Regions from separate parts of the Homo sapiens genome. Here region 1 is linked to region 2. The links are contacts of gene promoters, found by promoter capture Hi-C in human tissues and cell types (Jung and others, 2019). All regions are on one chromosome and are shown on one strand. The core of a region is centred on a gene start or on the middle of the fragment in contact, and the rest is flanking DNA. Distances in the headings are between cores, read along the strand shown.

Region 1 (6,469 bases), core at 2,344-4,843, 51 kb before region 2:
TAAGGTGAGAAGCAACTTCAGCAAAGTCTCAGGATACAAAATCCATGTGCAAAAATCACAAGAATTTCTATGCACCAATAACAGACCAACAGAGAGCCAATTGAACAATGAGAACACTAGGACACAGGGTGGGGAACATCACACACTGGGTCCTGTCCTGGGGTGGGGGTATGGGGGAGGGACAGCATTAGAAGAAATACCTAATGTAAACGATGAGTTAATGGGTGCAGCAAACCTGCATGGCACATGTATACATATGTAACAAACCTGCACGTTGTGTACATGTACTCTACAACTTAAAGTATAAAAAAAGAGAGAGAAAGTTCTAAATATCTGAGAAATAATCATAAAGAAATAGGGCAGCCAACCTGGGAGTCCCCAGTCCTACTTGTGTTGTTTGTCGTGTGCATCAGATTATAAAAGCTAAAAGTGGATTCCAGCCTCTGTGATTATTCTGTTTTGCTCTCTAATGGAACAGCCATTCAGTGGTGGTTTGCATTCTCCTTTGCCTCTCTTCAGCATGTCACTTTAGGGTTAGGGTGCTGTTTGACAGGGGGAACTGGGATCCTCCCCTTTTCTCACTGAGGTGCTGTCTTGAATTACAGTCGGGAGCCAGGACCTGGGCAGTGCGGAGGACCAGCATGCTGTGCCCCACAGACCTCCTGGATTGCTTCTTCATATGTGGGAACAGTTAAGTGCTGTCCTGGATCTCTGATATATGGGCTGCTTTTAGGATTTGCCAAAAGGAAACTTTTAAAGCTTCTGTTTCTTTACAACCAGCAGCTCAATTACTTATGGGATGTAGGTTGTCATGGAGGCAGTAAAGAGTTCATTTGGGAAAAGAGTGGAGAAGGCATACAGCGGAAAATGGAATAAACCATGTATGAGTCAGTTTCTTTTCCATAGGAAAAACCCTTAACATCTTAGGGACTAAAAGCAAGAAACTGTTCCTGTCACGCTCTGGAGCCTGCAGATGGGCTGGGGCTTAGCAGATCTGGTCTGGCTTGCCTTGTGTCTTCATCCCGGGGCCCATGCTAAGGGGCAGTGTCTGCTTGGGTCAGGTTTTCTTCATGATGGTGAGGAGGGGAGCAGGAGGACCCACCTCTCGCATCTGCAGGGTTAAGGTCTCTGTCCTTGTCACATCTGTTAAGACCCAAGCAAGACCCATGACCATGCACAAAGGCAATGGGGGTTTATGCTGCATTTTCTGGAGAGAGTTGCTGCTAGCCACATGGCAGAGGGGGCATGCATGTATAGTTTTGTTCCAGCAAGGGAGACAGCTGTCCATCAATCCTGGCACACCCCCTTGAATCTAGGAAAACCCCTCTGCTCTGTGCTGTGACATGGCACACACTTCCAGGAAGCCTGTGGCTTTCATGCTGGCAGTGGCTGACTAAACTTTTGCTAACAAGGGTGATTTTTTTCAGTCTCCTGAGTTCCACCTGCGGTATCTTGGAAGTGCTGGCTCCCTAGAAGGGATCCTCCATATGAGGAAAGCTCCTTTCCAAAGGCCCATGTTTATTCTCTATAAAAACAGGCTGCTCAAAAGGTATGGCCTGGTAGAGCCTTTTTTGGCCTACATTTTGTTATATATTAATTGTTGAGTTCTTCCTAATAGAGAATTCACGTCTACTCCCACCCAGTGTGGTTCACATGGTATCAGAATCATAGCCAAATAATTGCGAAGGTGTGCAATGTGCAGGATGGGGTTTTATGATGAAAACTCAAGATGAAATAGAAGAAGGGGTCTGGGAAACAACAGTGACCCCCTGCACTGCAAAGGGAGGTGCAGGTAGGATGAGGTGGGGAAAGTGGCCATCTCTTGTGAGGTGACAACATCTGAGGGAAGTGGAGGGCGCTTCCTCCTCAGCCTCTGTCCCTGCATCCTCTCCAGTGCCCCAGTCCCTTCTGCCTCACACTCTCTCTCTGCTCTAAGGAACAGTACAGAGTGTGGATGCTGGTGAAGCGTGTTCTTAGTAACCAGCCAGCCTGCAGCTTCATCACGTGATGGTTTGGCCATTTCCCCTACACATGTATGCTAGGCTGAGAAGTTAGGAGGTGTTTCCATGACTTCCCAACTAGCTGACAACACTGGCCTGTGTATCTCAGGTGATCCCGATGCAGAACTTTGCTGTATTTTGAGTTTTTATTTTTTGCACCTTTTATTTTGTAGTGATTTCAAACTTACAAAAAGTGGGAAGAGTAATATAAAGAGCTCCTGTATACACTCAGATTCTCCCACTCTTAACATTTTGTCTCGTGCTTTTTCCTTCTCTTTCTATATGTACAAGCTATTATAGGTTTTTCTGAGTCATTTGAGTGCAAATTGCAGACATGACCTCTTTTGTCCTCAGATACTTTCATGTGTGTGTCCTAAGGACAAGGACATTCTCTAACACAACCTCAGTGCAATGAGCAAAATCATGATGCTTGTGTGGATACAGCCTTTTATCTAGTCTATTGTTCAGACAGTTTATCAATTGTGTTTGTTTGCCAAGCTTCCTTAGTCTCCTTTAATCTGGAAACGCTTTTCATTCTTTCTTGTCTTTGTTATCCTGTCATTTTTGAAGATAACTGGCTACTTTGAAGAATGTTTTCTGTTGGGGTCGTCAGTGGATTAGATTCAGGTGATGCATTTTTTTCAGATGAAAATTATAGAAGTGGCATTGTGTCCCTCAGTATATCATCATTCCAGGAGGCCAGGATACCATTGTCCAATTGCTGATACATGTTAACATTAATCTCTAGATATAGATAGTATCTTCCAGGTTTCTCCACTCTTAAGTTACTTTTTTTTGTTTGTGTAATTAATAAGTATTTCACAGAGCAATACTTAGAAAATAGTTTTATGTTCTACTTCTTATTAAACTTTTACTTTCTACCATTAGCATATAATGATAATTCTTTCCTAAATCAGTTGTTATTATGATTATTGTGACTATTTTTTTCTAACTTCATCATTTCTTCTGTATTTATTAATGGCATTCATTCCACTGTAAGGAAAACTTGCTTTTCTCATCTGTCTGTTTATCTACATACCTACCTACCTAGCTTCTGTCTCTCGACAGATCTAACTCATGGTTTCTTATTTTATTCAAGAAGTTATAATCTGTTACCACTATTATTCCAGTGTGTAGATTATCTCACAATTGGCTACCAAGAGCTCCTTTAAGCAGCTTCTTCTGTTCTCTTGACAGATTTCCATTATTATTGGAGCCTATCCTTACCTTCTCATGTATTAATAACAAGAAGTTCTAGATCTATTTTATACTTTCCTTCATCCAACTCTAGAATTACTGGCTGAAATCTGTGGTGAGTTCAGAAAGCAATGCCGAGTGGTGCCTGTGCTCATTCATTGCTACAGGGAGGCCATGGTGCCTCTGTCAGTAGTTATTCACCTGGGGCAATTTTGCTTCCCAGGGCACACTGGTAATGTCTAGGACATTTTTGGTCGTTGCTGCTTGGGAGGATGTGCTACGGCATTTAGTGGACAGAGGTCAGGGATTCTGATAAACATTGTGCATTTTTTTCCCCCAGTGGTAGATTAGAAGCTTTCGGTGTGCCTCAAACACTTGGAAATAGCAAAATAGTACCTAGTGATCAGCTCTGTGAGTTTTAACTCAAAAAGGCGAGTGGGAATCCACTGGAATCCTGAAGGACACCTCAGATTCTGGGGAGGAGAATGCAGGCAAATAGCCCCTAAGACAATGTGTTCCTCATAAAAGTGAGTGATATCCCAGAATGTGAGGGGGCAGAGAGTCTTCCTCTGTGATGTACCCTTCCACTGGGGATTCCATGGAACCAGGCCAAGGGAGAGCACTTTGTTTCTCCCAAGCCCTAGAGCTAACTTGGGGAGATGCTTGGACACTCTGAGAAGGAAAGACACTGGAAAAAGCTGCTGCCATTTTGTTAGACCTAGGACTAAGGGCAGTATGCTATTTTTAATCTGGGCTCATAAGTCAGTCATTCTTAGGTGACCCAGCAGCTTGCCCACAAACTCATTTTAGTCTTGGGCCATATGGGAGTGCTTATGCTAGAATGGGGTAGGGGCCTCCATATTAGAACTGAGCAGTGACTGCGAAAAATGCCCTAATAATAGGTGTTGGAATTGTGCTCACCCTTGTTGCAAGTCTAGAGCCAGAGGAGGTCTGCTGCAGCCATGGTTTCTCCTGGGTGATGACACTTGCAGTCAAGGTCATCTTGGTACCTGGAACTGGTCTCTGTGTATGAGTGCTGGATGCGCCAGACTTATTCCCTGAGATTGTGGAGTGGCTGGATCCTCTCTGCCCCACACGTGGGCTGATCTCTTGGCATTCAGAGCAACTGCTCCCTCGGATCATCAGCCTAAGCAGCCCCACCCTTCCTATGTATAGACTGTGGTGCAGCAGGGCCCTCTGTACTCCACACCCAGGTAGATCTCCAGGCATTCAGAGCACCTGTGTGCCTAAATCAGCAGCCTTTGCTGCCTTACCCTTCCTGTACAGAGACAGTGGTGAAGCAGGACCCTCTCTGCTCCATGCCCAGGTAGACCTCCAGATATTTAGAGCAGCTGCTCACTTGGAACAATAGCCTGAGCTGCCCCAACATTCCTGTGCAGAGATTGCGGTGTAGCAGCACCTGCTGCACTCCATGCCAAGGCAGATATCTGGGGATCTGGAGCACGCACTCCCCTGGATTAGGAATTTAGGCATTCCACCTCCTGCAGAGAAGCTGAGTCCAAGGAGGTTTCTCATATCCATGCCTAGGCACATCTCTGGGTGCTCAATTGATGCCCACTGGACTCCCACTCAATGCTGGTGCTTGTACCTGCTATTGGAGCACCTGTAGTTATGCCTGCCCTATAGGGTTATAGAAGCAAAGCCAAAAACCCTATAATCACACCCCCTGGAGAGGGGTTGAAATGGAAAGAAAAACAATGACGTAGGGAAAGAAAGAAAAAAAAATCTGTCTGTATGAAAATAATTACAAAAATTGGAAGTGCCAATATGTCCAGATGAGAAAAAAACAGCACAAGAATCCTGGAACCATGAAACATCTGAATGTTGTGACACCATCAAAAGATTGTACTATCTCTCCAGAATGGTTCCTAACCAAAATGAAAACTCAAAAATGACAGATAAAGAATTCAAAGCATACATTGCAAGAAAGCTCAATGAGATCCAAGACAATATTGAAAATCAACAAAAACAAATGTCTTAAGCAATCCAGGAAATGAAGAAAGAGAAACACATTTTAAAAGAAATCAGTCAGAGCTTGTCGAACTGATAAACTCCACTGAAGAAATTTCAAAATACAATTGAAAGCTTTATTATTAGACTAGACCAAACAAAACAAATCACTTCAGAGCTTGAAGAGTAGTGCTTTGAACTAACCGAGTCAGACAAAAGAAATGAACAGTCTTTGAGAAATATGATGTTATATAAAATGACCAAACCTCTGAATTGTTAGCATTCCTGAGTGAGAAGGAGAAAACATAAACAATGTGGAAAGCATATTTGAGGTAATCCAAGAAAATTTCCCTAATCTTGCTAGTGTCATAGACATCCAGACACAAAAAATACTGAGAACACCTGCGAGATACTATACAAAATGAACATCAATGCGTATAGTCACCAGGCTTTTCAAGGTCAATTAAATAAAAAATCTTAAAAGCATCTAGAGAAAAATGTCAGATAATGTACAAAGGAAACCTCATCAGGCTAACTGCAAAGTTCTCAGTGGAAACTGTACAAGTCAGAAGTGATGGGAACCTATTTTCAGCATTTTTAAAGACAAGAAAATTCAACCAATAATTTCATATCCTGTTAAACTAAGCTTTAGAAGCAAAGAGAAATAAAATCTTTCTCAGGCAAACAATCAGTAAGGAAATTTGTTACCAGTAGACCAGGCTTACAAGAGATTCTTAAGGAAGTACTACACATGAAAACAAAAGAAAGATCCAGCTAACATAAAAACAAACAAGTACATAGTCCACAGACTTTGTAAAGCAACTATGCAATAGAAACTACAAAGCAACCAGCTAATAACTTCATGAGAGGAGCAAAATTTCATTTATTTCTTAAATGACCATATGTAGTCATAGTTATAATTCTTCCCATTGTACAGATAAGTTAACTGAGTCTCCTAGAGATGACATCCCTAGCTCTCTCATTAAGGGTTCCATCTATCAGTTTCTGCTTTACCAGTGAGACTTCATTCTCTCAGCTACTGGGAGTGTGGCCACTGATGGCTCACAGCTGAGTCCTTCTGTGGGCATTGATCTGAGTCAAAGGGAGCTGCTTTGTCCAAGTTCATGTCCCTCCTGGAATTGCCTATTTTAAATAATAGGTCTATAAGGGAGTACAAAATGTTGACTCTTTTGCCCTAATATGCTACCACTCTGAGGCCATCCCCATTGCAGAGATCTCCATGGGCCTGACTTTGGCCTCTGCTGACCTGCACCCCTGCCTGACTTTTCCCTCTGCCCCAC
Region 2 (6,613 bases), core at 2,022-4,521:
CAACAAAGGACTCCTGCAGCCTTCTCTGTCTGTCTCTTGGCGCAGGCACATGGGGAGGCCTCCCGCAGGGTGGGGGCCACCAGTCCAGGGGTGGGAGCACTACAGGGGGTGGGAGTGGGTGGTGGCTGGTGCGAATGGCCTGGCACAGATCCCTAGGATTCTTGACACCTGGATTTCACCAGGGACCTTCTGTTCTCCCAGGGAACTTCGTAGATCTCGAAAGAGCACAACTGTTTCTGTGAAAGGGAAGAGAGAGGGCCAATCAGTGTGGGTTACAGTTAAAGGGGAAGATGCCCAGGCATGAGATGTCAGAGCCTGGGTGAGGAGGATGGAGGTGAGACACTGGGCCCTCACCCACCCCTACTGAGTCCCAGAGTGCTGAACTAGAATGAATAGTGACTGTTCCATTGCCCCTCCCAAGGCTCCAAGTCACCAGGTGGCATTGGGACCCCACCCCAGCCTGCAGTGTCCTGTCCCAGCACAGCCCTGTGAGGAGTAGCCTGGGCAAGGCCTCGGGAGCCCCAAGGGTGCAGGGCATGGGGAGGCAGCTCAGTTCCCCCAGCTCCTTCCACCTCCAGCACCCAGGCCAGCACTAAGAGGGGCCAGAGGGAAGAACCCAGGGCAGGGCAACTCCCCCTCAAAGAGCTGGGGCATGGGGCAAGGGCAACAAGGGGAGTGTGGCTCTCCCCTGAGTGGAGACCTCACAAGAACCAGCAGGTCCTTGGAGAGGCTGGTGTTGGGTGAGCCGGGCAGGTCCAGGGCTTCCCAGCTAACAGGCCTCTAGGTCCCACTAATCTGATCACTGTGGCTGTGGCTGCATGCAGGTGCCTGAGGCTGGGATTAGACAGAGCCCCTTCTCCCTGCCCAGCACACAGCCGCACAGCTGCTTCTTCCTGTCCAACAGGCAACACTCCAAAGCAGGCAGAATTGACCTTATAGTAACCATTCCCAACCTAAAGCCTTCCTAGCAAATCAAACACATCACCCTCCTCCCTCACCACCCCATCTGCACATACATGGACAACTACGTAAACTCACTTGGACCCCTCATCCCCATGGATCTATGTACAAAGCCCCATACACCCCCCACACATCCATGCACAGGCACACATGCTCCCATCCACCTCCCTGCACACACTGGCACAGGTGTGTACACACGTGCACCTTTCCACATGCACACCTACATGCACACCCCCCCATAAGTACATGAACACGTACACATCCATGCATACACGGCTCCCCACATACCCACCTGCACACACACACCCTCCAAACATGTGTAGGGCAGAGGCTGACACATACGCACCCCTCTGCAGTGCATGACTGGCCCGGGACCTGCATCAGGAACGTACCTTCTGCAGTTCTGGCTGTTCATGGAAGGCACAGGTGTCCAAGTTGGGCTGGGACTTGGTACATATGGTGCGGCCCACCTCTACGTCGAAGAAGTAATTCACCCCCCCAACGGTCTGCACACAGGAGAAAACAGGACAGCGCCCCCATCAGTTCATGCACTCACAGGCACTTCACTGTGGCTGAGTCACTGGACTTGCTTGGGGGCTTCGTGAGCTGCCCACATGTCAACACAAGGCACACAAGCCCCCTCTTCCTGTCAACTGGCAGGGTGCTGAGCCTCATACCCGCTCTTAAACATTGCTTTCTCTGTGCTGGGTAAAAGGATTCATTGAATTCTGCTGTCTGTGGCTCAGGGGCGAGGGAACACTGACTCTTTTCTAGGAAGTCTGTCTGATGACAAAATTTCACCTAACTTCTGAAAATCTTATTCCCTCCATTTAACATAGATTTATTACTTCACTCAGAGTAGGAAATGAGATGCTTCACACACACAGATATTTTGGATCAATGGGGCCGCCCGGATGCCACCATTTCAAGTGTGAGATTCAAGATACATTTCTCAAGTCAGCAGCACACCTGCGTGTCTTACAGTTGCAGATTAGAATTGAACCCTTTCCCTGCATAGGGCCTTTCCCAGACACAATGTGGCAGAGCTGTGGAGAAACCTGGGATGAGGGACTCTCTGGAACCAGGAGGAACTGCTGAGATCCCTCGAGTGTCAGTTTACCCATGTCTAAAATAGGCTTCTGGGCCTGATGGTCTGCAATGCCCTGTGCTTCACTCCAAGTTACTGTCATGCTTGAAAGGGAGATGCAGGCCAGCGGGGACCACGGCACCAGGGAGTGTATCTCGTATGCAGGGAGAGAGCCCCAGCTGACAGCTGCAAGAGGAGAAACGGGGCTGGTGGGGATTCCTTTGAATTTCCAGGAGAAGGTGGAGGAGCTCTAAAGACTGTGTCACTATTTGCTGCTGTGCCATGGGATGCAGGTCAAGCTGGGCCCAGTTGCCCTGCTGAAGCTCCCTCCCGACCTGACCCCTCCTCTGCTCTGCTGGGTGACCACTGTCCTCATCTGGCTGAGGTCTAACTGCATCAGCTGGTAGAGGCAGGGTCAGGCATGCTCCACCCCAGCAGGGACTCAGCGCCCTGGGCTGTAGGGGTTTGTCAGCCGGCCTGAGGGTGAAGGCCGCTAGCCATAAGGGGCTGTGCCCAGGGGCGTGACTTGGGGAAGCAGGGCTCTGCAGAACAGTGAGCCAGGTTCCTGTGTGGCCCCTGCAGAGAGGACTCAGGGAGGAGTATGAACCTCATGGCCTGGATCTCATCCTGAGCAGCATCAAGCCCACCCAGAGTAAGCACAGTCTCCATCCACACCTGCTGGACCCTGGGAAATGCCACAGTCATGGTACAGACACAGTGGCTGCTGCAGGTTAAAGGAAGCTGAGTTTGTGCACGGCCGGGGAGCGTGCTTAGGCATGAAGGGCATCAGCGGAGAGCCAGGGAAAGCTGAATGAATCTGAGCATTAGATCATGAATGTATCAGTGTTGATTTGCTGGGAATGCTCTTGGGGGTTGGGGAACAAACCAGGCTGGGACCCAGGACCCCTGGGGTGGAGGGAGCACCTACCTGTTGCCTGGCTCTTAGTACCCGCAGCGGACGTCTGTAGTAGTCATCTTTGGTGGCCTTGTTATACTCGCTGATGGCGAAGTGAAGGGCACGCTGTACCCACTCATCATTGAGGTCTGCGTTATAGATGCCACCCGGGATTATCCTATCCTCCTCCTTGGGGCTCCAGGCCAGGGCCACAGCTAGGGTGGCCAGCAGGAGCAGCAGGGTACTCAGATACTGGGCCATGGTCTCCTCAGAGGCAGAGCACAAAGCTGGAGCTGCAGGAGAGGAGGGTGAGAGCCCGAGGCAGGGAGCCCAGACCAGCAGGCAGGTGTGCATTTATCCTGCTTTGGCAGCCCAGCCCCACCCACCTCCATGCCCCACCCCTGACTCCTCCTCCTCTTTCTTCCCATCCCCTCTTTCTCCATCTCTCTTTTCACTCCCCCGCTACTACAAGCTCCCTCCCTGCCTAAGTTCCCCCTGCCCCTCCCAGGCCTCCTCCTCCATCTCCCCCTCCTCCCCACTCCAGTCCTCACTGCAGCCTCCCCGAGCCATGCCTCTCTTCCCCAGTGCTCCCAAGCTTGAGTCACCCAGGTCTCCACAGAGGTGACACTGGTCCTTTGACTGTGAAAGCTATGTGACTTCCTGTTTGCTCAGAAAGGGGAAAAATACAGGGCTTGGCCTCCCAGGGTCTTCAGATATCAGGGGCATCCAGGAGCACTTGGTCACAGTCTCTGAATCTCTGGAACAGGGAGATTATTTCAGAAAGTTCCAGAAGACCCTGTCCATACCCTAATGTGGAGAATTTCTTTGCCAAATTTAAGGGAATTAACCTTTTTGGAAAAGGTCACTGGATTCTCTTTTCATAATTCATTATTCAATAAGCAAACCTATCACCAGCTACTCCCCGTGCCAGGAGGTCTAGGGCTTGAAGACGGAACCTGGATGATGAGCCATAGAGGTGACATTGCAGAGCTGCTGCCCAACAGACATGTGACACGAACTCACGAGCAATTGAAAATTTCTAGTAGATGCATTTTAAAAGATGAGAATAAATGGGTGAAAGTAATGTTTAAAATATTTATTTAACCTTATATAGCCACAATGTGATTTCAGCTAATGGGAACAATTATTAATGAGATCGTTTATGTTTTTTTTTTTTTTGTTTTTTTTTTTTTTGGTTTTGTAAATCTTTGAAATTCCCTGTGTATTTTTAACACTTAGACCAGAAGTAATTTTGGACTGGCCCCATTTCAAGTATCCTGTGGCACATGTGGCTGGTTCTATGGAACTCCATAGTCCATTCCTACACAATGTGTGTAGGGGATGGTAGGTTACGATCAAAAATTAGGGTCAGGGAGTTATGCTCACTCTTTTGGAAGTGAAATAGAACAGGGGCTAGAGAGAGACCACTGGACCCTGGTCAGGGTGGTCTCTATGAGACTGGAGAGGTTGAGAAGCCCCAGGCAGTGGGGAACAGCCAGTGCAAAGGCCCTGAGGTGGGGTTGGGACATGCCTGCTCCAGAAAGTGGAAGCTCCTGGAGGGGGTATGAGGAGGGAAGGGAACGACCTGGAGTCTCACAGTAAATGTGGGTGGGGCCCGGTGGAAGGTGCACGGAGACCCCTGTGAGGCAGTGGGGGTGTCAGGAAAGGGAGCAGCAGCCACGGGATGAATGTGGGAACCCACAGGTCTCTCTTGCTTCTGTCCTAGGCAGCCATGCTTCAGGCTCCTTTCCTCTGTTCACTGCTTGGAAGACTCACCTGATATTTTAAAAATTGCCTTAAATGAGGTAGAATTTGCATACAATAAAATGCCTAATAGTATGTGCTCAATCTGGGGTGTTTCATAAATGCATACACTTGTGTTACCACTTTATCCAGACCTGTGACATCTGCCTTGCCCCAGACAGTATCTTCCTGCCTTTCCAGCCACCCTCGTGCCCACCCCACCTTGGCAGTCCCCATCCGGCCCCATAGACTCCTTGGTCGCCTGTCCTTGAGCTTCCCAGGAATGGAGTCCTGCAGAGCGAGCCCATGTGTGTCTTTGTCCTTTGCCCAGTGTGGCTTTCCGGCGGCCCCCGAGTTGCTTCATTGCCAGGATTGTGAGTTCTCCTTCTCCGCAGACTGAGAGGATTTGGTCAGTTGGGTGTCCTATGGGCTGACAAAGCCCCCAGCTCGGGATGCTGTGGGCCTGGGCTGGAATGTGACTCCAGGAGAGGAGAGGGTGGAAGGAGGCTCTGAACAGACAGCTGCTCCCTTTGTTCTCTCAACCCCACCCTCCATGCCTGAAGGTGACCCTGTGGCAAATGCCCTTATGGGGAGGTGGCAGGCTTGGCCAGAAGCTACAGGAAACCCTGGACCTTAGCAGGACACCCAGAGGACTCTCCCAGGAGTGGTGGAGGTGAGCGTTGGCCAGTGTCAGCCCAGACCTGTTTAGAACACTAAACAATACTATAATAAACAAATGACCAAGTGCAGAAACCATCACATAAAGGTGCAAGTGATGAGGACAAGCTGGCCAAGAGTCATCCTGGGCTGGGACATGGCTGGGGCTGGATCAGCAGGAACCCGGCATTGGGAACCATATTACTCATGGGTGCTCATGTTCAGTATTAGTACAGGGAACCTTGTTACCTGAGGCCTGGTGACCATCTCACCCCACTGTGAATCCAGCACCCCTAGAATAGCCGTGCAGCCCGGCAGATACAGCAGGTGTACCGAAGGTGTTTACTGCTGGGTGAAGGAGGGAAGGTCTTCAAACAAAGCTGCACATATGCCTCCTAGTTAGACAGGAAATGGGGAGAGATTTCCAAAGAAGGGAAAGAGAAGGAAGTCCCTTACCAGGTGTTTGGGAGCAGAATGGTCATCTCCAAAGGGTAGGAGTTAGTTCTCCTCTGTGGCTCCCACCTTCCTGGGACAGCTGGGAGTCCAGGCTCAGGAAGACATGCTGTGCAGAGGGTAAACTGAAGGTCAAGCAATCCTCTTGTTTTTTTGTTTGTTTTTGTTTGTTTGTTTTGTTTTGTTTTAATCATTGGAAAGGAGATGCAGGTAACCCAAATAGCGAGAATGTGCTGGTGGGTGGAGTATGAGGGAGGGAGGCCAGAGTGCTGACCTGTGCCCTGTATGTGATGACACCACCAGTGGTCATCTTCTGTCTGGGCACTGGCATGCACTGCAGGGAGGGTCAGCTGTTCTGATGCAGCAAGCTCTCTAATCCCAGTAGGAAAAATACCAGTGTACATTGCTCTTAGGAGGAGGTACAAGTGCGATGTCCAGTATGGAGTGATAGGAAGTAGCAGGTTGAGGTAGCTGGCCAGCTGCTCCAGATGTTTGATGACCTTAGGCAAATGGTGTGTCTGTCATGCATCTGGAGAAAGAGGCTACTTTCTAAAGCATAGTATCTGGGAGTTAAGACCAGCAGAGATGAGCAGACTTCAGCAGTGATGTATCAACATGGTTAAAAATGATGGAGTAGCCAGGTGTGGTACTGCACCTGTAATCCTAGCTTATTAGGAGAGTGAGTCAGGAAGATTCCTTGAGTCTAGAAGTTCAGTTTCAGCCTGTGCAACACAGTGAAACACCCATCTAAAAAAAATGGCAGAACACTTTGTTCCCTGATTTCTATAGTCCACAGTTTTAAGGACACACTAGAAGAG

Evidence for each region. The method cuts DNA at HindIII sites, captures the fragments that hold promoters and counts their contacts. A contact is called where the count stands out against the background at its distance.
Region 1: a fragment that was not itself captured here is called in contact with the fragment with the promoter of CST1 in region 2 in 1 of the 25 tissues and cell types used here (bladder).

The regions. Positions count from the first base shown.
Region 1 is chr20:23,696,807-23,703,275 of GRCh38, forward strand. No RefSeq gene overlaps it. Among named protein-coding and RNA genes, the nearest start is that of CST4, 11 kb to the left of the region's middle. The HindIII fragment of the contact is 3,930 bases long and covers 1,629-5,558 here.
Region 2 is chr20:23,747,664-23,754,276 of GRCh38, forward strand. CST1 (cystatin SN) reads right to left here and starts at 3,272. Exons shown (of 3, transcript NM_001898.3): 1 at 2,976-3,272; 2 at 1,353-1,466; 3 at 1-236. The coding sequence starts at 3,203. The coding sequence ends at 153. RefSeq lists enhancers at 4,512-5,026, 5,027-5,540. The HindIII fragment of the contact is 8,409 bases long and covers 173-6,613 here.